7 separate regions of the Homo sapiens genome follow, and regions 1, 3, 4, 5, 6 and 7 are each linked to region 2. Evidence: promoter capture Hi-C in 16 types of primary human blood cells and fetal thymus (Javierre and others, 2016). All regions are on one chromosome and are shown on one strand. Each heading gives the region's core, a stretch centred on a gene start or on the middle of the fragment in contact. The rest is flanking DNA. Distances are from core to core; before and after follow the strand shown.

Region 1 (2,700 bases), core at 17-2,516, 7.4 Mb after region 2:
TCTGAGAAGAGGTTCCTTAGCTTTTCTGAGCCCTAGGAGATAGAAAACCAGGACCCTAGCAGCTCCCTGATCAGGACCGAGGTTAGGAGCACTGCAGCCTAGGGCAGGAAGAAGGATTTGCTCTCTGGGCTGCTATTTTCTCTGCCCAGCTCCTGATACTTTAGTGGTGGAGGTTTTGCCCAGCTGCTGGACTTGTGGCTGAGCCTGTCTTCTTCAACTCCGCTTCTCCGTGTGGCAGTACTGCCCAGGCCCACATCTCCTCCGTGCAGCATACTGGCCGCTGTCCGTGCACGCCGACCTTTGGCCGCCAACAGGAAGGTGATGGAAACCAGCCTTGCCCCGCCCCCGCCTCCAGAGCTTTGAAATAAACTTTAGCTGTTCATCCCGAAGAAACTGTACTTCCCAGTGACGCTGCTCCCATGCCTCAACCTGCCCCTGCTGGAGAGCTGTTTCACTTTGTGGGGAGTCACTGATTGTGCGGGACCTGGCAATATGGTCTTCTTCTTTCCTCTTAGAGGCTCTATTCTAAATATGTCTTCCTTCCGGACCGTAGATGCAGGTGTATCTAGAGGGCAGTTGGCTCGCCCAAAATAGCACCGAAGTCCAGGAGGCAGGAAAGAAACTCTGGCATTAAATGAGCTCACACCCTCTCCAGACTCCCACAGTCATTGTCCCCTCTGACCCTCGCAACGCCCAACTGCTAGAGGAGGCTTTGCGCCTCACATACGACCTTCCCCGTCTTCAGAAATGAAGACACTGAGAGAGGTCAGGGGACTTTCTCGCCAAGGTCCAGCAGCTAAGATGTAAAGGAGTAGGGAGAGTCAGGATTTGTACCCAGGACTTCAAGGCCATCTCCTTCACTGAAGCTCTCCAAGAAGACGAGTTTGGAGGCTGAGGACCTGAGCTCCTCTTCTCTCGCTTTCACTCACCCACTGCAGGACTGCAGGCTCCAGGGAGGCAGGCGCCAAGGCCGCCCTCCGCGGGACCCGGTACAAGGCAGGCGCCCCGGGATGGCAGACTGGGCCAGGACCGAAGCCGAATCCTTCTTTTGCCTGCGGCATGGCTAAATGTGGACCTCGCTCGCTACGGTGCGAACGTGTTGGGTCAAGCTCTAAGCCCAGAAGTGGGGCTCGGCTGGGTCTGAGGCTCCCCGCTCTGGACAGCTTAGAAGCCCGGCGGGGGCGGGCGCAGCCTTAGAGACCTCAGGCGCCGGCCTCGCTGGAGCCGCGCCGCCGCTTCACATTGCGCACGCGCGGGGCTGGCGCGGGCTCCGCCCCCCGGGTAGGGACCTACAGCGGGCGCGGCGCCGGCGGTCTGCGGCCGGCGGTGTAGACGCCCCTTCGCCGGGACCTGGCACCCGAATCCGGCCTGCCGGGTAAGTAGCTGAGCGGGAGGGCGAGGGCCCCCGGATCCGCGTGTACGTGACCGAAGCGCCAGCTGCGGCCGGGTCGTGGGGGCGCGCGGGGCGGGGGCCTGACGGGGCCAGGCCGGGGCGGGTCGAGCGGCCGCGGCCCCGCGTGCCCGCGCTGAGGGCTGGCGTCGTGGCAAGTGGCACCGGGTAGGCCGAACGCGGGCTCCGGCTGGTGGGCGTGGGGCACCGGCTGGGGTGGGGGCCCGGGCCGCGGCTTGGCGCGCGTTGAGCAGGTACGCGGGCCTGGCCTAGGGTCGGGGTCCGGCCCGGCGCCCCCAGCTCGCCTTTGTGCGCCGCGACCCCGCGGACTCGGCCGACGCGCCGGGGCGACCGAGGCGGGGGTGGCAGCGTCCCGCGGGGCCGTTCGTGTGGCGCCGCTGGCCCGGCCTGCGCTCCCCGCCCCCAGCGTTATGAAGGATGCCTCCTCCGAGGGCTCCTACCGTCCGCGCCGAGCAGGAAGTGTCGTCAGGAGGCCATTTTTAAAGCCTCCTGCGGGCCTCGGAGCTGAGCGTTGACGGTTTTGGTTTTCTTCGGTTGGAAGAACCCCGGCCTTCCCTCGCGGCGAGCGGGACGCGCCTGGGAGACGACGATGCGCCCGATGCACCTGGCCTCGTCCTCCGAGCGCCCAGGCTCAGGCGCGCTCGCCTCGGATGCTGCCTGCCATCGGGGGAGCGTGCCGACAATAAACTCGAAAACCAGCCTGGCATTGTCTTTCCTTGAGAGGGTCAGGGGTGGGCTCGTCCATCGAGGTCCTGCGCATCTTTTACGGGGGGCGAGGACATAGGAGGTTGAGAAGAGATGGTGAAGGTTTGAATTGTTCCAAATGCTGATGTCATTGTGGGACCTCCCCATACCGGCCTGCCCGTCTTATCTTGGTGTCTTTGGGGTTTGGGGCTCTGTAAAGCCAAGAAATTGCAGGGTTCAAAAGAATGAAAGTTTCTTAACCAGAAAGGAAAAGCCAAAAGAGCGAACGGGAGAAAACACTTAAGTCTTTATAAGTTGGGTAGTTAATGTATCCCGTTACAATACCTCTGACTTTAAAAATTGTAATAATGAACGATTTATCAACGTAACATTAAAAAAAAAAACTACAGAGCATTATGTCCTATTTAAAAGTACAAATCTACGTAGCTAAACTCTAATGTTGTGTTAGACTCTTTAAACCATCTTAAGTTTAGACTTGAAATCACCAAGAATTAAGACAAACCTGGGTCTCTAGAAGCTTGCAGTACTCTTCTACAGTAGAGCAGAGACTGAGGATGGGAATACATCTCTTTTCTCTCTCTTGA
Region 2 (2,700 bases), core at 157-2,656:
ATCACCCTAAGACTGATGAAAGCACTAGCCATAATAATGCAGACAAATTAAAATATTTATTTAGTAAACTCTTAATTATCCAAACCAGCCAAAGGGCAATCAATTTGCATGAATTTCTCTCCAGGCTATAATGGGAGTACACAAGCTTGACTTTTGACAGTGAAAAGATTCCTTTGATATATTTTTTTCAATATCTTTGATTCTCAATAAGCCTTTAGTACCAGTACGTTACAAATACGCTTCTTCAACAACCCAAAATCAATACTGGCTTTTATATTTCTCATATTCAGGCCTTCCTATCACCAGCAGTTTCTTTATGAGATAACTTGCACATCCTATCTCATATCCTCAAAGCCCTGTGATGTTTACTCACAATTTTTCTTGGACCTCAAGATAATTCATCTTCCCCAAATTAATTGTTCTATTCTTCTCAAGGTTCCACTCAAAACAAACAAATAGTATGTACATAAATAAGAATGGCCAGGCCCTAAAAATAATTTGGTATTTGGTGATTGGATTCAACGTAACCGTAGGACAAGGGTAGAATCATTTGATGTTCGGCGGGGAGCGATGACCCCAGGGGCAACGACCACTGAACCCCCGCATTCAGGATCCACTCTGCGGTTCAATATTTGATGTCTGATCGCCTCGGTGGTCGTAAATGTTTCTCTCCACGTTCACGATCGGACTAAGGAATAACGGTCCACGCCGCCCAGAAGCTGGGGGTGTCGGCTCAGAAAAGCCAAGGCGGGGCCCGTGTGAACGACGCCCAGGCTTCGGAGGCTTTCTGGCCTGGGCCCAGGCGACCTCGGGTAAGTCCCTGACTTCTCCGAACCTCAGATCCCTATGAAGTGAGTCGCGAAGGTGAACAAGGCTGGAGTCACGGTGCGCCGAGCCCGAGGGCCACGGAGGGCCCCTGAGGGAGGGTGGGCCGGGGCGGGCGAGAGGCGGCGGCCGGGGCCGGGAGCGCTTACCGTGCGGTAGGTGCGGCTCAGCGCCACCACCAGCTTCGCCTGGTTCTGGTGCGGCTGCTGCGCCAGCCGAAAGGCCTCCTTAATCGACAGCAGCCTCCTTTCCGCTCCCATGGCTCTGGAACCCTGCCGGGACGAGTCCTGCCCGCGCTCGGCTACAGCCTGCCAGCCCGCCAACCCAGAGGCAGCGCTCTCCGAGTAGTCTTCTATGACAGCCCCAGGGAGTATTTACCGCTCGAACGTTCAAATAATTCCCGCGAGAGGGGGAAATCCCGCGAGACTGCCGTAAGCGCTTTGGGAGAAGAGAGCGGGAAGCGATGGGTCCACCCACCTCGCACCCCGCGCTTTGGGCGCATGCGTCTAGGTTCAACCTTGTCCAGCCGTTTTCACGGAGGGAAGTGGCGTTTCTAAGGGGGAGGGGCCTTGACTCGGCCGGAAGTAGCGTCGGCGCGGGAGCTGAGCGGAGTGGCCTTGCCACCGGAGGGGAAGGGCTGCTGGCGTTAGGCCTGGCTGGGTCGTGCGGCTGAGCGTGAGGCTAGAAAGAAAAAGCGATCCTCCAAGAGTGAGAACGGGAGATCTGCCGAGGATAACAACCTCCCTTGTGGCCGAAGGGCGGGGGATCCCCACACGAGGGCTCCGCTTCGAGAGACGGCGACAAAGGAAAGTTCGTAGCGCGTTCCGGAGGCCCGGCCACCTCTGAGAAGGGAGACGACGCTGCTGGGTCCGCTGAGCGGGGCGACCCGAGGTTAGTGGAGACGGATGCTGTCTTTTGAAGGCCTTAGTCCCTGCCCTGGTGAAGCCGACTGCGAGGTTCCACAGGGCGTGCAGGCAGTCCGGGGATCGTTGCGAAGGGGGGTGCGGGCTAACTTAGCTGCTGCCGTTTCTAGATGTGCAGCTGTGTAGGCCCTGTTTACAAGTGTGCATAAGGACAGTGTATTAAGGGAGAACTCAAGAGAATGGAAAGGTCTTTCGGGTAGTGGTTAAAATAAAGAAGAGTAGGAACTAGGTTTTTAAATTTTAAATGAAATTATATCAGACAGAACTTCTGTTGGATCTCAGGATGCACCATCCAAAAATAGGACTGTAGGAGACCAAAATATGCCACCCTACAATATACTTCTAGAGTATATTTTGAGCTGGTATTCTGATAAAATGCAGACACAGGAGTCGCTCTGAAAATCTGTCCTGTTGTAAAAGAAATTGACATCTACAGAGGAAATATACATCAGTAAAGGATCTGTATCAGAAAGAGGGCAGCTCTGCGATAATTTTTGTTACCTGGGAGATCTTATCTGCATACCAAGACAACTTTTATTCACCGTATATTTCCTCCCCTCACCTTTCCACAACTTTGTGGCCACCATCCCCCAGAAAGCCGCAAGCCCCCATTTCTTGAGTAGCGTAGGATGCTGTATAATATTCAATCATCTGACCATGGTGGGACTCCTCTGCGTATGTAATTAAGTACGGGTTTTTTTTCTTGTTAATGTCTATGTCAGGTTAATTTGTAACCCAGCCAAAGAACCTAGGAGGATGGAGGGAAGCCGTTTTTCCCTCTCCTACACCTCAGTAACCTACTGCCAGCTGAAGAAATAGAACATTACTAAAGCCACCTGTACATCTTTCTCCTTTTGAATTACCTGCCCTCCGAAGAAGTAATGGATTTTCTGAATTTACTGTTAACTTTTACCATGCAGCTTTCTATATCTTAATGACATATTTTAATATA
Region 3 (2,827 bases), core at 288-2,787, 7.7 Mb after region 2:
TGGGGAGGAGGCTGCTCTGACTCAGATGTAAGTCATTATCTGCAGTTTGGAGTATCTCAGCCCCCACCGCTGACCCAGTTGTATTTAGAATACAAACGAGAGTGAGTGATTCATCAGCTGGCAGGATTCTGTTGCCCTTTGGGGTTTTTACACACAGCCCTGACCATTTAGGGGAAGGAATTTTTAGGGGCAGAACTTCCTCTCATGCCCCTGCCCAGGCATCTTCCATCTCTGGATGCCCTCCCCAGCGGAAGGCCCATGGGAGCCCCACCCTTTCTACGGCAGCACGGCCTGGGGAGGAGGTCGTCCAGGCTGGGAGAGCCCACGAGGCCATCTGTCTGGCGGGATGGGCAGGTGCCCCTGTATGTGAGCGTGAGACCTCCCCCATCCCCAGTCAGCTGTGAGTGTACACCGAACAGGGTCTTGGAGGGGCTGCCTGTTAAGTGGATCATTTTCTTGCCAGGTGCTTTGGGTAGGGATGTGTCAGTGTCAGAATATGAAGGACTAATTGGAGTGGGAGAGGGTTGGATTGGGCAGACATTTAATAAATAGCCAGCATCTTAGTTTTATTGAGGTGTACTTTAGATACAGTAGAATTTGTCTGTATTCAGTGTGTGGCTTGGATCTTGACAGATGACCTATATAGTCCCATAAGCACCACCCCTGTCATGACAGAACATTCCTGTCACTCCGGAGGGTGCCCCCCGCCCCCGCCACCCCTTCCACCCTCACCCCCAGCAGCTGCTTATCTGCTTTCTGTCATTGGGGTTGCCTTTTCTAAAATCTTCTTTCATATGAAGTGAGAGGCAATGTGTAGTCTTTTCTGTCTGGCTTTTTCACTTTGCATAACATGTTGGCGATTGATAGCTGGTGTTGAGTGCATTTGCACTTTGTTCCTTTCTATCACTAAGCAGTGCGGTGTGTTGCCTGTTTCTCTGTTCACCTGTTGATGGATATTTGGGTATTTCCAGTTTTTGGCCATTGCAAAGAAAGCTTCTGTGAACATTGCTCCTGTGTCTTTTGGTGGACACATGCTTCCATTTCTCCAGGGCAGATACCTAGGAGTGGGGTTGCTGGTGTTTGGTGTGAGTAGTGTCTGTTTAGGTTTATAAATAACCTGCCCAACTCTTTTCCAACTGTACCATTTTGCATTTCCACCAGCAGTGTGAACATTCCAGTGTCCCCACCCCTCTACCCTTGCCAGCACTTGGTGATGTCAGTCTTTTCTTTTTATTGATTCTAGTGAGTATGGAGTGGTATTCTGTTGTAGTTTTGACTTGCATTTCCCAAGACTAATGACACTGAGCGCTTTTTCATGTGCTTACTTGTCATTCGTAGTATCTTCTTTGGATAGACACCTTGATACATTCTAATTTCACTGGCGAACGATTATCCCAAAATGGATTAATTTATGACTGGTGTCTATTATATCACATAATGCTGTGTTAAGTCTTAGGGATGAAAGAGAAGGTCTGTGTGTACTTCTTTTTTTCTCCCCCAAACCACTTATTGAGATGGCTAGTGAGATAAAGGTCATGTTAAGCAGGGCACAGCAGAGTTGGAGGAGATGGACAGGAATGCTAGGGACTATGATGTGTGTTGTGCCATCCCGGTGGACATGTTAAATGATCTGGAAGCACAGAAGAGTTGATACGGATAGCTTGGGCCATACTTGGAGGCTTCATGGAGGAGGGAACGCTTCCGTTAGGCCTGATGGGTGAGTGGGTGTCCGTAGGCAGGGAGAGGTGCTGGCCAAGGGCACAGACTACACACAGACGTGGAGCTTAAACAGGATGGCAGAAGGTGGGCAGGAATCAGGGTCTGTACTTCTGTGGTCTCAGTCTCGTGAGATGGGGGCCCCTCAGGTCTTGAGGAGGGGTCTAAGGGAGATGAGGGGTGGGGTGGCAGCAGGTGGGGTCATGCTAGGGGTGCCCGGGCACCCTCACAGGAGTCTGGTGTGTCCTAAGCCTCAAGCTGGCGGGAAGCTGCCTCTTTCAAAGAGCACTTGGTTTGTAAAAAGCTGACAGTAGGTAGCAGAGATTAGATGGCCATGTCTTTATTCCCTCCTGAAAGAAAGCTTCACTGTGGAGACAGATTGAGAGCAGCCCAGTGTGTGTGTGTGTTTCTGTTTCACTGAGGCCCTGCGTGTGTGTGTATGCCGGGAGGGAGGCGCAGGGATCTACTTTTAGCACATTACATGTTGAAACCTCATTGCTGAAGATGCTTCTAGTCTCAAATGTTGGCCCCATTTTTGCCACAAAGTCCACCCAGCCTTTGATCTGTGCTATGCAAGGGAGTGGGGAATCGACTTTCCTTTCCAAACCCAAGTTTTTGATAGAGAGGGCTCCCACAGCGTGTCCTGCTCTGCTCCTGCACAGCACAGCCAGGCGCTGAGTTTGGGGTCCAACATTGATTGGCAGCCAGGAGAGCTGGTCCTAAACACGGAAGAGAACAGAGCGCTGGAATGAATGCAGCTTCCCACAAATGGGAGGGATTAGAACCAGGGCTTCTTGCTCTAATCCACCTTTTGTGTATCTGTTTCACTGATATATTTGTTCTGTATTATGGAAAGTACAGAAAAGCAGAAAAGGAAAAAAATCACCTTGTTGTACAGTCATAGACTAAGGAGAACGAATTAAAGTAACATGAAATTCTATCACCCAGAGATAGGTAGGCAGGCAGTAGATACGTAGGCAAGTGGTATGCTTCTGCGGTTTTCTTCACGGTTTTAGCTTCAGTGTTTCTTTGTACACCCCTTTCACCCCATATCTGTTGATGTGGAGAGCTGGAAGCTTGACTGCTTCTCCATTCCTTCTGTTCATTCCGG
Region 4 (2,700 bases), core at 134-2,633, 7.7 Mb after region 2:
CGGTGCTCAACAGCCAAACACGTTAGCTCTGACCACACAACTGGAGGCCAGCAAAGACCCAGGCACTGTGGACTGAGTCAGAAGGAAAAGGCAGAAACCCTAGGACGGTAAGTAGTTACCCAAAGACAAAGCTTTCAACTGGAGAGCGACTGACGCTATCCTTGAACTTGGGTGAGAGCATGCTAAGATTCTACCTTCACTGGAAAAGTTGGTTATTTAGGGGCACAATTAAAACTTCCATATCTGATCTATCCATTTCAGCCCTTTCACGTGTAAAGGACAGTTTAGACTCTGTAGACCCAACCTGTTTAACTCCTGGTTGCATCACTTGCTTTTCAACTCGGCAAAGTTCCAACCCAAGTTCCCTTCCCTGATGTAAGATGAAGGGCAAGGGCCCACAAACCCAGCATCTAGCTCACACGAAGTGCTTGCAAGTATGAGGGTAAGTAAACGTTCCAGGAAGGGTCCCGGGAAAGGACAGGCCGGGGCTGTCACCAGGCCTCACAGCAACACACCAAGTCTCAGGCAGCAGGTAGACAGAAGCGACTGTGTTCTATCACTTATGGGAGTTTAAGAAGAATGGGACAGGGGAATTGTTTAACTGTCCCCAGAGTTCTTTTGCAGCTACAGGAGCTTCGAAGCAGTGCAAGACACGGCCTTAGGTCCTCCAGTGTGGAGGCTCAACTCCACCCAGTTACCACCCCCTTCACCGGGATCTTGATGATCAGATAGCTTTCGTTGCCTGAAGCTATGGTTAAGAAACAAGGGTAGACAACCCAAGTAGGATATATTCCTTGTACTGTGTTACTAAAGTTATGCCGTTGATTAGCTGTTTAGAAGTACATCCTTCAGTAACCTCAAACTGAAAAGTTATGCCCAAGCTTCCATGACTTGCAGGGATTTAAAGCTGCTGCAGCATGCAGGTGTTAGTTATTTGCTTATTTGCAAAACCCACTTTCCAATGGGCTGCTCAACTGGAAAGAAAGGTATTTACAACACATAGGGCCCCCCAAGAAGGGATTCAGTAAACGAGTTCACTGGAGGGTTGCAGATAACTCATTTCTTGCCTTGGCAGAATTAACCGGGCTAACCCCTTTTGCATAAGGTTTATGCTAGCAGGTTAAAGGCTTTGTTACCAGTCCTCTGACAAAGGCATCCAAGCACTTCTGGCAAGGTAGCCCGGTTTCCAGTTCACTTTGGAGGGACAGCCCAGGCCCCACAACCCGGATTTTTCCAGGTCAAAAGGTGGATACCAGTAGCTGCTTTTGCCATGCATTTCACCACCCTCCCTAGTCACAGCTAGTAACGGACTATGGACTCGATCCAACCAGTGAGATTTGAGAATTAAAGATCTGAAAGCCTGACAGCGAAGCTAAAAGCGTTACACATTAACTCAGGCTGTGGGCAGCCACTTCCCACCATGTGTCAGACCCTCTAGAGGACTCACTGGCAATCACTCCAACTCCCTGTGCAGATGGGGAGGTGGAGGCAGCGAGACTGGCTTGAGGTAGTAGATAAAGGTGATTTACTCCAGGGACACTCCGGAGATGAAACTTTGAATATGACTTGAGCTTATTTATGAGACAGGGACAGGCCTGCAAAAGGGACTGAAATTCCTGGAGCAGAAAGGCTTCCCCCACTATACCCAACAGTCCTTTGTGGAAAGGGCGGGGGTTCAGTCCACAGGGTGAGCTAGACGGGAGCAGCGCTACCCTTGCATAGGGCTCTTCCTAGGGGGTTGATACAGTTGAAGCAACAGGAAAGAGAAAGCCCCCTTTTCCTGAGCCTGGACAGAACCCATGAGGGTTGAAAGTGAGGAAGCAGCTTGACAGGCTTTGGAGAGAAATTCAGCTCTCCTGTGGCTTTGTTCCTCCCCAAAGCTTCCAGTATAGGCCTCACACATCTGACGTATTTGCAGTTTGTGGCTCTAGAAGCCAGGACTCAGAGCGTGCTCAGAGGACAAGGTGCATTCCAGGAATCCACACGCCCCCACTGTTTGCGTTACATAAAGCGTTCAGAACCCACTCCAAACTTGTTTTCCCCTGAGTGGAAAGCTGTTAAACAGCTCATTTAGCACCTGACGCCAGTTAGCGGTTTGCCCAAGTTACCCAATTGGAGCTAGTTTACCCCAAAGGTAGTCGAAGAGTTAAGTATCCTAAGCTGCTGCTGCTTAGAAGTTTCAAGAACACATTGTTGCCACTTTAGAATTAAGTTCAGGTGATACTTATGTTGCTCGCTCACACAGCAAAAGGAAGAATTGCCACTGTCTGAAAAGCACGCAGGTGTTCATAGATCTGGCACACCTGCGTTCTGTTTCCAATTGTCTGGGTGGGCCCCTGCAACAAGTGCTCGAGCAACAAGGTCCCTGCTCTCAATCCCTAAAAAGGGGAGAGTCGAGACGCTGATGAACCCCATAGTCATAAGCAAACCAGTGTGCAACAAAATGGGAGTATAGCTTGAGGGTGGATTGGCCTTAAACTGAGGCATCAGTGAAGACCCAGAGACAGGTGCCAGAACAGAATGACCCAGGAGACTTGCTCCTTGAGCCAGGCAGAGCCTCAGCATGCCAGTGTCTCAGAAGCCCAGGGAGGATGTTCGGTCTCAAGATAGAAACCTAGGCTACCCAAGGCTCAACAAGCTTTTAAAGTTTCTCTGGCTGCAGTAAGGGGCTCCAAGCAGATACAGATTAACTGGTCAGGA
Region 5 (2,700 bases), core at 201-2,700, 7.4 Mb before region 2:
GTGTCACTCATTGTATAACCTTAAATACATTACTCAAACTTCTTGAGCTTTGCTTTCCTGATCTGTAAAATGGGCATATGGATAAATACTTGTTGGGTGAGTGAATGGATGAAAGTAATTTTAGAATACTTCTCTTGAAATTGCTTCCAAAGCTGGTATCTTTTGAATACCTTTAATGAATGCATATCTTGACAATGACTAACTTTTTGGAAACAGACAAACATTTTTCTGAAGTAAGGTGGTGAATAAGGTAAGAGAAGAAGCTGGCTCAAAAACCTGGCGTGTCCATTCAGTAATGACATTAATTTTGGGATTTTTGCACATTTTGCATGTGATTGACAAAGCAGCTTTGAAGGCTTTTCCAAAGAAGAAGTTGCAAAAATAGTTGCATTTTGAGAATAGGAACACAACTTTCCAAAAGTTTGAAAAATACTCATTTTAGAAAGTATGCTAAATTCTTGTTGTTTTGTGGTTTACCTTTCTGTTTAAAGTAGTTAAATGCTCTATGTCATTCAACAAATATTTATCAAACAGCTATTATGTATTTAGTGCTGTGCTTTGAACACAGATATTGGTATAGCCCTTGTGAACCAGGAGTTCACAGTCTAGTTGAGACAGAAAATTAACAATTGAAATGCAATTCAACAAATACCATAAATAGACTGATTTATATTAATAGCTGGATGCCATGGGAACATGCAGTAGAAACAGTGATGAGCTGGTACATGTTGAACAACTGACTTCTAGGGGAGTGGGTTGGAGTGTAAGGGCCTGATTAGCGGTGTTTACTGATTTCCATGGTGTAAATGCTCCCACCATGGCCAACGTGACATCATCAAAAGAGGAGTTGGAAGATGTGCAGTAGTATAACATTACATTGAATTTCCACCATATAGATAAAATGCATGTAAATAACCTGAAGAGCATAGATAATAGTAAAATGTAAAATAATTAGGAAGTGACAAATTTTGAGTATTTTTACTTTTGCTTGTAATATAATTTTTGAGTGGCTGTATTTGAAAACTAGCTCACAAAATTACTGAACATTTAACAATCAGCTCTTGCAAGTGGGTGTGACTCAGTGCAAATGGACAAACCACCAGGTGAAAGCAATGTCAGGAATTACTGTAGGCTCACATAAGATGAAGATTGTAAGGAAACTGGAGGCAGGGATCTCCAGCAGTGAACCTCTAAGTTGTTGAACTGTTACAGCACTGCCAGGTTCCTATGCCGGCTGTGCAGAAACAGACCAGTATTCCGACAGCAGGCTTGCAGCAGAGAAAGTTTTAATAATCACAAGTTACAAGCCAGGAAACAGGAAGAGTTCTCAAGCTTCAATCCATTTCATCAAGGGGTTCTAGGCAAAGTTTTTTAAGGGGATTTGTGGAGGGTGAGGGGCTGGAAAATTTGGGGTTATCGATTCGTTGGGGTAAGGGAGATGAAATCATTAGGATGTGACAATTGCATTCCTCCATGAATCAGCTTTTTATTGGGCCTTCCAGACAAGTTGGCGTCCTTAGTTTTGTTGGTATGCGGGACCTAAAGAAGCAATGCAAACAGAAAGCTTATCTTCTCATAATGTCTTAGATTTTATCTTCAGAGCAGAAAAAGAATGAAGAGTCTTGTGACAAGGGCCACATTCTCCTGGGGTAGTAAGTAGCAACCAGCTACAAGAAAGTCGGCCACACTGCAAGCTGGCTTAATAACAGCAGCTGTAAGCCTAGTTGGATTTTTTTCCCCTCCTTAATCAATTTTACAAAATGTTCTTGGGGATAGTTTCAGAATGGTCAAACTAATTCATTAATTCAATATCAACTTTTTTTTTAGGCCCTACTTTATTCTGGGCACTGTTTTAGGTGCCCGGGGGAAGGGGGCACCGCAGCAAAAACCGAGGTCCTGCCGTTAGGTTAGAGAGTTTACATTCATGGGTATGGGTGTGTGTGTGTGTGTGTATAAACAAACGTCTGGCATGTCACGTGGTGAGTAGTAAGTGCTATGGCTAAACAGTAGTGTCAAGGGGAAAATGAGTGGGGCACTGCTATTTCCTATGGGGTTGTGAGGCAGTAATAAGTGTGGAAATGTATCAAAGTAAAGATCGAAGGTTCTGGCATCTGACAGTTTGAATAAGGCGGAAGCACAGACCCTGCACAGATCTCAACCATCCAACAGGACTGAAACACAGAACTTGGAAAAACCCACGTACCTGCTTCTTACTCTGCTCGCCCGGTCTGCACAAGTGCAAAATCCTTTCCTGAAGTTTGTGTCAGGAACACCAGGGTTTAACTAGACGAATCAGCCGCAGCGGGGCGGGGCTAATTTCAGTCCTTCCTTTGCCAAAAGTCAGCGAAAAGCGCGGACTCCCTCGCGCATGCTCAAATACGCCAACTTCCTCCTGGAGCGCCATCTGAGAAGGTCTGCGCATGTGCACGAACGAGAAGTGTTTTTTTTGTTTTGTTTTGTTTTGTTTTGTTTTTTGTCCCAAGGCGCTGCCGTACCGTCCAGGCGGCGAGTTGCATTCTGGTTCCGTCGTGTGTCTGGCGTGTGGAGCTAGTGCTCCCGCTTATTCGCCACTGTCGCCACCGCTGTCATGAACCGCGAGAGCTTCGCGGCGGGAGAGCGGCTGGTGTCGCCGGCTTACGTGCGGCAGGGCTGTGAGGCCCGCCGCTCGCATGAGCACCTCATACGGCTGCTTCTGGAGAA
Region 6 (2,700 bases), core at 119-2,618, 7.6 Mb before region 2:
ATCCTTAGGAAAATACTGCAGAATAAAGAGAAAAAGGGAAGAAGGCTCAGGGATCGGCTATCAGTGCTTTTTAAGGAGGCAAGGGCAGGAGAAATAAATATTTACTTAAGCATGTTCATTATAAGGTTATTTACGAAAGTGAAAAAATGCAAACAACCTAGATGTCCCATCATAGATTTTTAAAAAATATATCTATCCTGAAGAATATTATGCAGACATAAATCGATGTTCACAGTATACTTATGAAAAAGCATGGGTCATAAAACAGTATGTACTTAAAATTCCATTTTCTTGAGGGAAATTTTTGCATGTGTCTGTAAGCCTATTTATGCAAGAACCTATCTTTGGAACAGTAGACAGGGAAGTTATAATAGTGATTATCTCTGGGTGGTAGGGTTAGAGATGCTTTTATTTTTCCTTGATTTACCTGGCTCATGTATTAACTGTAAAGTTAACAGGCAGCAACCTTTGTTTTCCTCTGTTTTTTTTTTGTTTGTTTGAGACAGTCTCACTCTTGTAGCCCAGGCTGGAGTGCAATGGCGTGATCTCGGCTCACTGCAACCTCTGCCTCCCGGGTTCAAGTGATTATCCTGCCCCGAGTAACTAACTGGGATTACAGGCACCCGCCACCATCCCCGGCTTTGTATTTTTAGTAGAAACGGGGTTTCACCATGTTGGCCACGCTGGTCTCGAACTCCTGACCTCAGGTGATCCACACCCTTCACACCCCCCCCCAACCCTTGGCCTCCCAAAGTGCTGGGATTACAGGTGTGAGCCACCGCACCTGGCCTGTCTTCTTTAAGCATGTGGAATATTTGGGCTGACTTCCTCTAGTGTTCTCCCACTCCTCCTCTCCACACTTGCAGATGAAGAAACTGACCCATCTATTCAGGCCTACCATCTTAGAGATTACCGGCTGTTTCACCTCTTCTAGTATCCAGTGGTATGAAGCAGTTAAACCAGGGATCTTGTAACTAACTGTTCCACCAAAGACAACTGGGATAAAACTCAGCCTCTCAGGGCTCTGAGATCTTGTTGCTCAATGTTGGTGCTATTATAGCCTCATCTTGCTGAGTTAACATTTATACTAAATTGCCTGAAATCAAATAGCAGAGATCTTATCTTTACTTTATTGCAATGACCTTCTTAGTTGACCCTTAATTTCAGCCCAGGTCCTCATGGTCCAACTAAAATCACATCAAATAAGTGAAACTGGATTTTCCTTTAGATTTTGTGGAAGCTGTCCTACCTAGAGAGCTCGAAGTGTATCTGCTTCTTCCATAGTATAGTTAAGGTGTGAGGCATAAAGCGGTATATTAAATGGCATTTCCGTTCACTCAGTTGGTATTTATGAGCACCTACTACCTAGATGGTGAAGAAATGTGTTAGCCTGGCTGCCTGCTTCCCATTAACTGAGGTCACAGGTGATGCGGCTGGTCATCTCTATCGCCGTAGAAAAGGCATGTGCCTAGTAAGCAAACACAATGATGTCCACAGGCACTGCCATCAACGAGCTTCTAATCTGTACAGGGCTAAACAAGTATATAAAGTCATTCTTATACAAGGCATGATTTAAGTACCATAAAAGAAGTATAAAAACAACACACAAACTGACATTTTTATTTCTCTGGCAACAGATGTACTACTCCAGTGGAGAGACCAACAGGGACATTGTGAAGGCAGTGGCAGCTGACCAGGACCCTTTGTAGGTTGTGATTTTATATTTCAAGATTAGTCAAACTTCTCCCAGATGCCTAGTATTTTGCAGATTACTTTGAAGGGGTCTTGCAGATAAAGCTGAGAGAAGAGAGAAAGAGATCCCCCCCCGTATTGTTCTATATTGTTTTATGCTCAGTACCTGTTTTAAGAAACAAGGAAGCAAAACCAAAGGCAGGCAGCCGGGTGCCAGGCACCAGACCCAAAACCAGGCCTGGGCCTGCCTGACCTTAGCCTGATAGTTAAAATTCAACCCATGACCTAGCAACCGATGTTATCCGTAGATTCCAGACATTGTATGGAAGGACATTGTGAAACTTCTCGTTCTGTTGTTTCACTCTGATTACCGGTGCATGCAGCCCCTGTCACATACCCCCTAGATTGCTCAATCGATCACGGCCCTGTCATGTAAAATCTTTAGTGTTGTGAGCCCTTAAAAGGGACAGAAATTGTGCACTCAACAAACTCGGATTTTAAGACACTAGACTGTCGATGCTTCCAACTGATTAAAAGCTACTTCCTTCACTATCTTGGTGTCTGTGGGGTTTTGTCCACGGCTCATCCTGCTACAAGGCTACTAATCTTCACGCAGCACATCCCCACATTTAAAACTTCAGTTAGGGTGGTCCTCATATTGACTCTAAGTGCCTCCTAATACAAATCTGTTTCCCTTTTCAGTCCCTAGAAGAAACATAATAGAGTGGGTCCAGTCCGTATTTCAGGCATGCCTACCACTTCAAAGCCTCTAGAAAATTCCATGCTTACATCAAATTTTTATTGAGCACCAAAAAGGCACAAGATACACAAGAGCAGATGAAATGGGTGCTGACATTAAGAGACCTAAATCTTTGAGGGAAATAAAATCAGTAAAAATAATCACAGAATAATATGTGAAAGGCCTTAAATGTGGTATCAAACACCAAGGGGCCAAAGAAGGTTTCAGTATCAGGGACTCGTGGAAGATTCCCAAAAGAGAACGGAGTG
Region 7 (2,700 bases), core at 162-2,661, 7.4 Mb before region 2:
GACCGATTCTATCCAAAATTCTTTAAACTGTAAAGGACACATTAGTGTACCACTAACAGTACATTTAAAATCTAACAATTCCAAAAAAAACTAAGCAGTGTTAAAGAAACTTCCATTTTCTGTGGTTTTTAAGTTGTCATGTGTGAAGCGATAAACCAACCGGGTGCACAACATCTCATTTAATCCATCCTCACAACCAGCAGGGAGGTGTACCATCGCCTTTTTACAAACAAGTCTGTCTCACCTCTAGCTGAGAGTCTTACAAGTCTCTTGCTATTTCCATCACATTTGTCTAACTCCATTCAACACGCCAGAAAAACTCACTTTATTAATAAATATCCAGGCCTGCACAGCATACCTAAATTTAACCTTCAACATCATTTCAACTGCCCTGTTTCGCCTGAGGTTATCAGTCCGCTTAATAGCGAAAAGAGGTTTTTCGTTTTGGTTTTCTTATGTATTAGAAGTAAATCAAGAAAGAGAAACTAAACTGTAAGAGGGCAGGAACAGACTTTCAACTGCTTTTGCCCCCTGTGGCTAACTTCATAATAACAACATTTAATAGAAAAAGGTTTTGAAACGTGCCCCAGTGGCAACTGGATATTCTGGCTGTCCATCTCTCTCCTGTCATCCACTTTGCAAATTCACCACTCCGGGAACTTTCCTGAGAGTTCAAGGTTCTTAATTCAAAAGTCAAGTCCAAACTTGAGCAAGGACTTACGTCATTTTACAGCGTTAACCTCTCCCCAGTGTCGGTTTCTAGAAGTTTTGACTCACTTTGCGGGGAGGTCTAAAGAATCGGTTTAATGACAACCACTGGCCTTAGGAGAGGGAGCTCCCGGAGAAAGAGCGAGCAAGCTAGGTGCCCGCGGTGCGGCTGCGGCTGGCGCCGGTCCGAGCTCGGGAGCTGCTGCCCAGCGAGCGGGGAAAGCCCGTCCACCTCGGCCAGCGCGCGCGGGAGACAGGACCGAGCCGGGCGACAGGGGCAGCCGCCCGGAGGGGCGCGGGGAGTGGGGCAGGGCCGGGTCGCACCTGAAACCGCGGGGCGGCTCCGGTCCAGCTCGGCGGACGAACTCCGGGAGACCCCCACGTCCCCGGGCGGGAGGGGCAGCTCCTCGTCGCCGGCCTCGCCCTCCTCCCCGGCAGCGTCCAGCAGCCTCACGGCGCTGCCTGGGGCGCCTCTCCGCGGGTGGGCCCAGGCGATCCGCGGTAGCAGCGGCTCCCGCTCCCCATCCTCCTCCTCCTCCGGGCTCCCGCCGTCCGCGGACGCCAACCGGTCGGGCTCGGAGGGATCCTCCATGGACTCCCTCTGCTCCCTCCGCGCTGAGACCAGATCAGAGCAGCCAGGTGCCAGAGACTGGGCTCTGCATGGCGCGGAACGGGAGCGACCGGGTAGAACGGACGCCACCTCACCAGCGCACGGGCACGCTTGGCGCCCGCCCAGCGGTTGTCCCGCCTCGCCGCCGGCCGCGCCCCACCTCGCGCCTCCGCCAGGCACCACCCCCGCGCCTGCGCAGAAGGGTCGTGGCGGCGGCGGCGGCGGCAGCGGGGCACGTGGGAGTGAACAGGGGGCGGGGCTTTTGAGGGGTCAGGTGGGGTGGGGCCGCCACCTGCTTCCGTGAGCGCGGGGAGAAGCTGGGCACAGCTCGCTTTACTCCCAGTGGAGGGCGGGAAGGTGAGTAATTTTCAAAGAGGTGCCCTCCTGCAACCAAAAGCGGCTTCTCCCTGACAGAATTCTCTCTCAGAGTTTACCATAATCTGTAACTATAGATTTAATTGTATGACATTTCTTTCCTCCAGTAGACGTCCAGGAGGGCAGGGACCTTGTCTTTGTTCAGATATTCTTGATAGTGGCAGTTTGTATGTTTTCTTTTTCTGACTAATCTAGCTAGAAGTTTATCAATTTTTAAATCTTTTCAAAATGTCATGTTTTGGTTCCATTGATTTTCTGTTTTCTGGTCCATTGCCTTATTTTGCTCTTTATTGCTCACTTGAGTTTTGATTTCCTCTTCTTTTTCTAGTTGCTTAGAGTAGAAGATGATTGATTCTGGATCTTTCTGCTTTTCCAATGCTAGTATTTTAAGGCTATAAATTGCCCTCTAAGCACTGCTTTAGCTGAATTCTCCTTTTTTTTTTTCTTGGTGGTTGTTATTTTTGAGACAGGGTCTCACTTTGTTATCCAGGCTGGAGTGCAGTGACACAATCATAGCTCACTGCAGTCTCAACCTCCTAAGCTCAAGGGATCTTCTCAGCTTTAAACTGTAGAAGACACAGTAGCTGGAACTGCAGGTGTGCACGACCACATCCTGTTAATTTTTAAATTTAAATTTTTTGTAGAGATGGGATCTCACTGTTGCCCAGATTGGTCTTGAGCTCCTGGTCTCAAGCAGTCGTCCTGCTTCAGCATCCCAAAATTCTGGGATTACAAGCATAAGCCACCTTGCCTGGCCTGCTACTGTGCTTTTGTTTTCCTTCAGCTGAAAATAGTTTTTAATTTCCTTTATGATTTCCTCTTTGACCCTGTAAAGGAAAATAAAAATCTCAGAACCACCCCCCACCCCCAACTTGTTATGTCAAAGGGAGAGTTAAGCCTGGAGACTGAAGTCACTCAACACTACAATGCTTTTCCCAAATGGATAGCTGTTACTTCCCATAGTTGTATTAAAACTTTATATGTTAGCCAGACCCTCCTCAAAATGC

The links. The method cuts DNA at HindIII sites, captures the fragments that hold promoters and counts their contacts. A CHiCAGO score of 5 or more calls a contact.
Region 1: a contact is called between the fragment with the promoter of ZNF518B here and the fragment with the promoter of DCAF16 in region 2, in 1 of 17 cell types (total B cells). The highest score is 7.6, in total B cells.
Region 3: a fragment that was not itself captured here is called in contact with the fragment with the promoter of DCAF16 in region 2 in 1 of 17 cell types (neutrophils); the score reaches 6.1 in neutrophils.
Region 4: a contact is called between a fragment that was not itself captured here and the fragment with the promoter of DCAF16 in region 2, in 1 of 17 cell types (neutrophils). The highest score is 6.7, in neutrophils.
Region 5: a contact is called between a fragment that was not itself captured here and the fragment with the promoter of DCAF16 in region 2, in 1 of 17 cell types (naive CD8 T cells). The highest score is 8.0, in naive CD8 T cells.
Region 6: a fragment that was not itself captured here is called in contact with the fragment with the promoter of DCAF16 in region 2 in 1 of 17 cell types (non-activated CD4 T cells); the score reaches 6.1 in non-activated CD4 T cells.
Region 7: a contact is called between a fragment that was not itself captured here and the fragment with the promoter of DCAF16 in region 2, in 3 of 17 cell types (fetal thymus, naive CD8 T cells and non-activated CD4 T cells). The highest score is 6.8, in fetal thymus.

What each region holds. Positions count from the first base shown.
Region 1 is chr4:10,455,992-10,458,691 of GRCh38, reverse strand. ZNF518B (zinc finger protein 518B) reads left to right here and starts at 1,266. Exons shown (of 3, transcript NM_053042.3): 1 at 1,266-1,375. RefSeq lists a silencer at 1,151-1,790 and enhancers at 1,921-2,080, 1,343-2,158, 2,141-2,200. The HindIII fragment of the contact is 4,989 bases long and covers 1-2,635 here.
Region 2 is chr4:17,809,463-17,812,162 of GRCh38, reverse strand. It overlaps DCAF16 (DDB1 and CUL4 associated factor 16), which reads left to right and starts at 1,406. Exons shown (of 3, transcript NM_017741.4): 1 at 1,406-1,716. It overlaps NCAPG (non-SMC condensin I complex subunit G), which reads right to left and starts at 1,184. Exons shown (of 21, transcript NM_022346.5): 1 at 975-1,184. The coding sequence starts at 1,085. RefSeq lists enhancers at 713-1,225, 1,499-1,658, 1,226-1,737, 1,779-1,868. The HindIII fragment of the contact is 3,530 bases long and covers 148-2,700 here.
Region 3 is chr4:10,104,002-10,106,828 of GRCh38, reverse strand. All of the region lies in intron 2 of WDR1 (WD repeat domain 1), which reads left to right. Among named protein-coding and RNA genes, the nearest start is that of WDR1, 11 kb to the left of the region's middle. RefSeq lists a silencer at 1-22. The HindIII fragment of the contact is 1,084 bases long and covers 996-2,079 here.
Region 4 is chr4:10,120,427-10,123,126 of GRCh38, reverse strand. No RefSeq gene overlaps it. Among named protein-coding and RNA genes, the nearest start is that of WDR1, 5.0 kb to the right of the region's middle. RefSeq lists an enhancer at 1-373. The HindIII fragment of the contact is 999 bases long and covers 884-1,882 here.
Region 5 is chr4:25,160,257-25,162,956 of GRCh38, reverse strand. SEPSECS (Sep (O-phosphoserine) tRNA:Sec (selenocysteine) tRNA synthase) reads left to right here and starts at 2,508. Exons shown (of 11, transcript NM_016955.4): 1 at 2,508-2,700. The coding sequence starts at 2,588. SEPSECS-DT (SEPSECS divergent transcript) reads right to left here and starts at 2,285. Exons shown (of 2, transcript NR_037934.1): 1 at 2,204-2,285. RefSeq lists an enhancer at 2,245-2,544 and a silencer at 2,655-2,700. The HindIII fragment of the contact is 232 bases long and covers 1,335-1,566 here.
Region 6 is chr4:25,372,081-25,374,780 of GRCh38, reverse strand. No RefSeq gene overlaps it. Among named protein-coding and RNA genes, the nearest start is that of ANAPC4, 3.8 kb to the left of the region's middle. The HindIII fragment of the contact is 3,082 bases long and covers 1-2,700 here.
Region 7 is chr4:25,232,764-25,235,463 of GRCh38, reverse strand. It overlaps PI4K2B (phosphatidylinositol 4-kinase type 2 beta), which reads right to left and starts at 1,431. Exons shown (of 10, transcript NM_018323.4): 1 at 1,033-1,431. The coding sequence starts at 1,300. LOC105374535 (a long non-coding RNA gene) reads left to right here and starts at 1,599. Exons shown (of 4, transcript XR_925490.3): 1 at 1,599-1,675. RefSeq lists enhancers at 542-671, 604-1,103, 1,104-1,605 and silencers at 892-951, 992-1,231, 1,332-1,641. The HindIII fragment of the contact is 3,001 bases long and covers 1-2,700 here.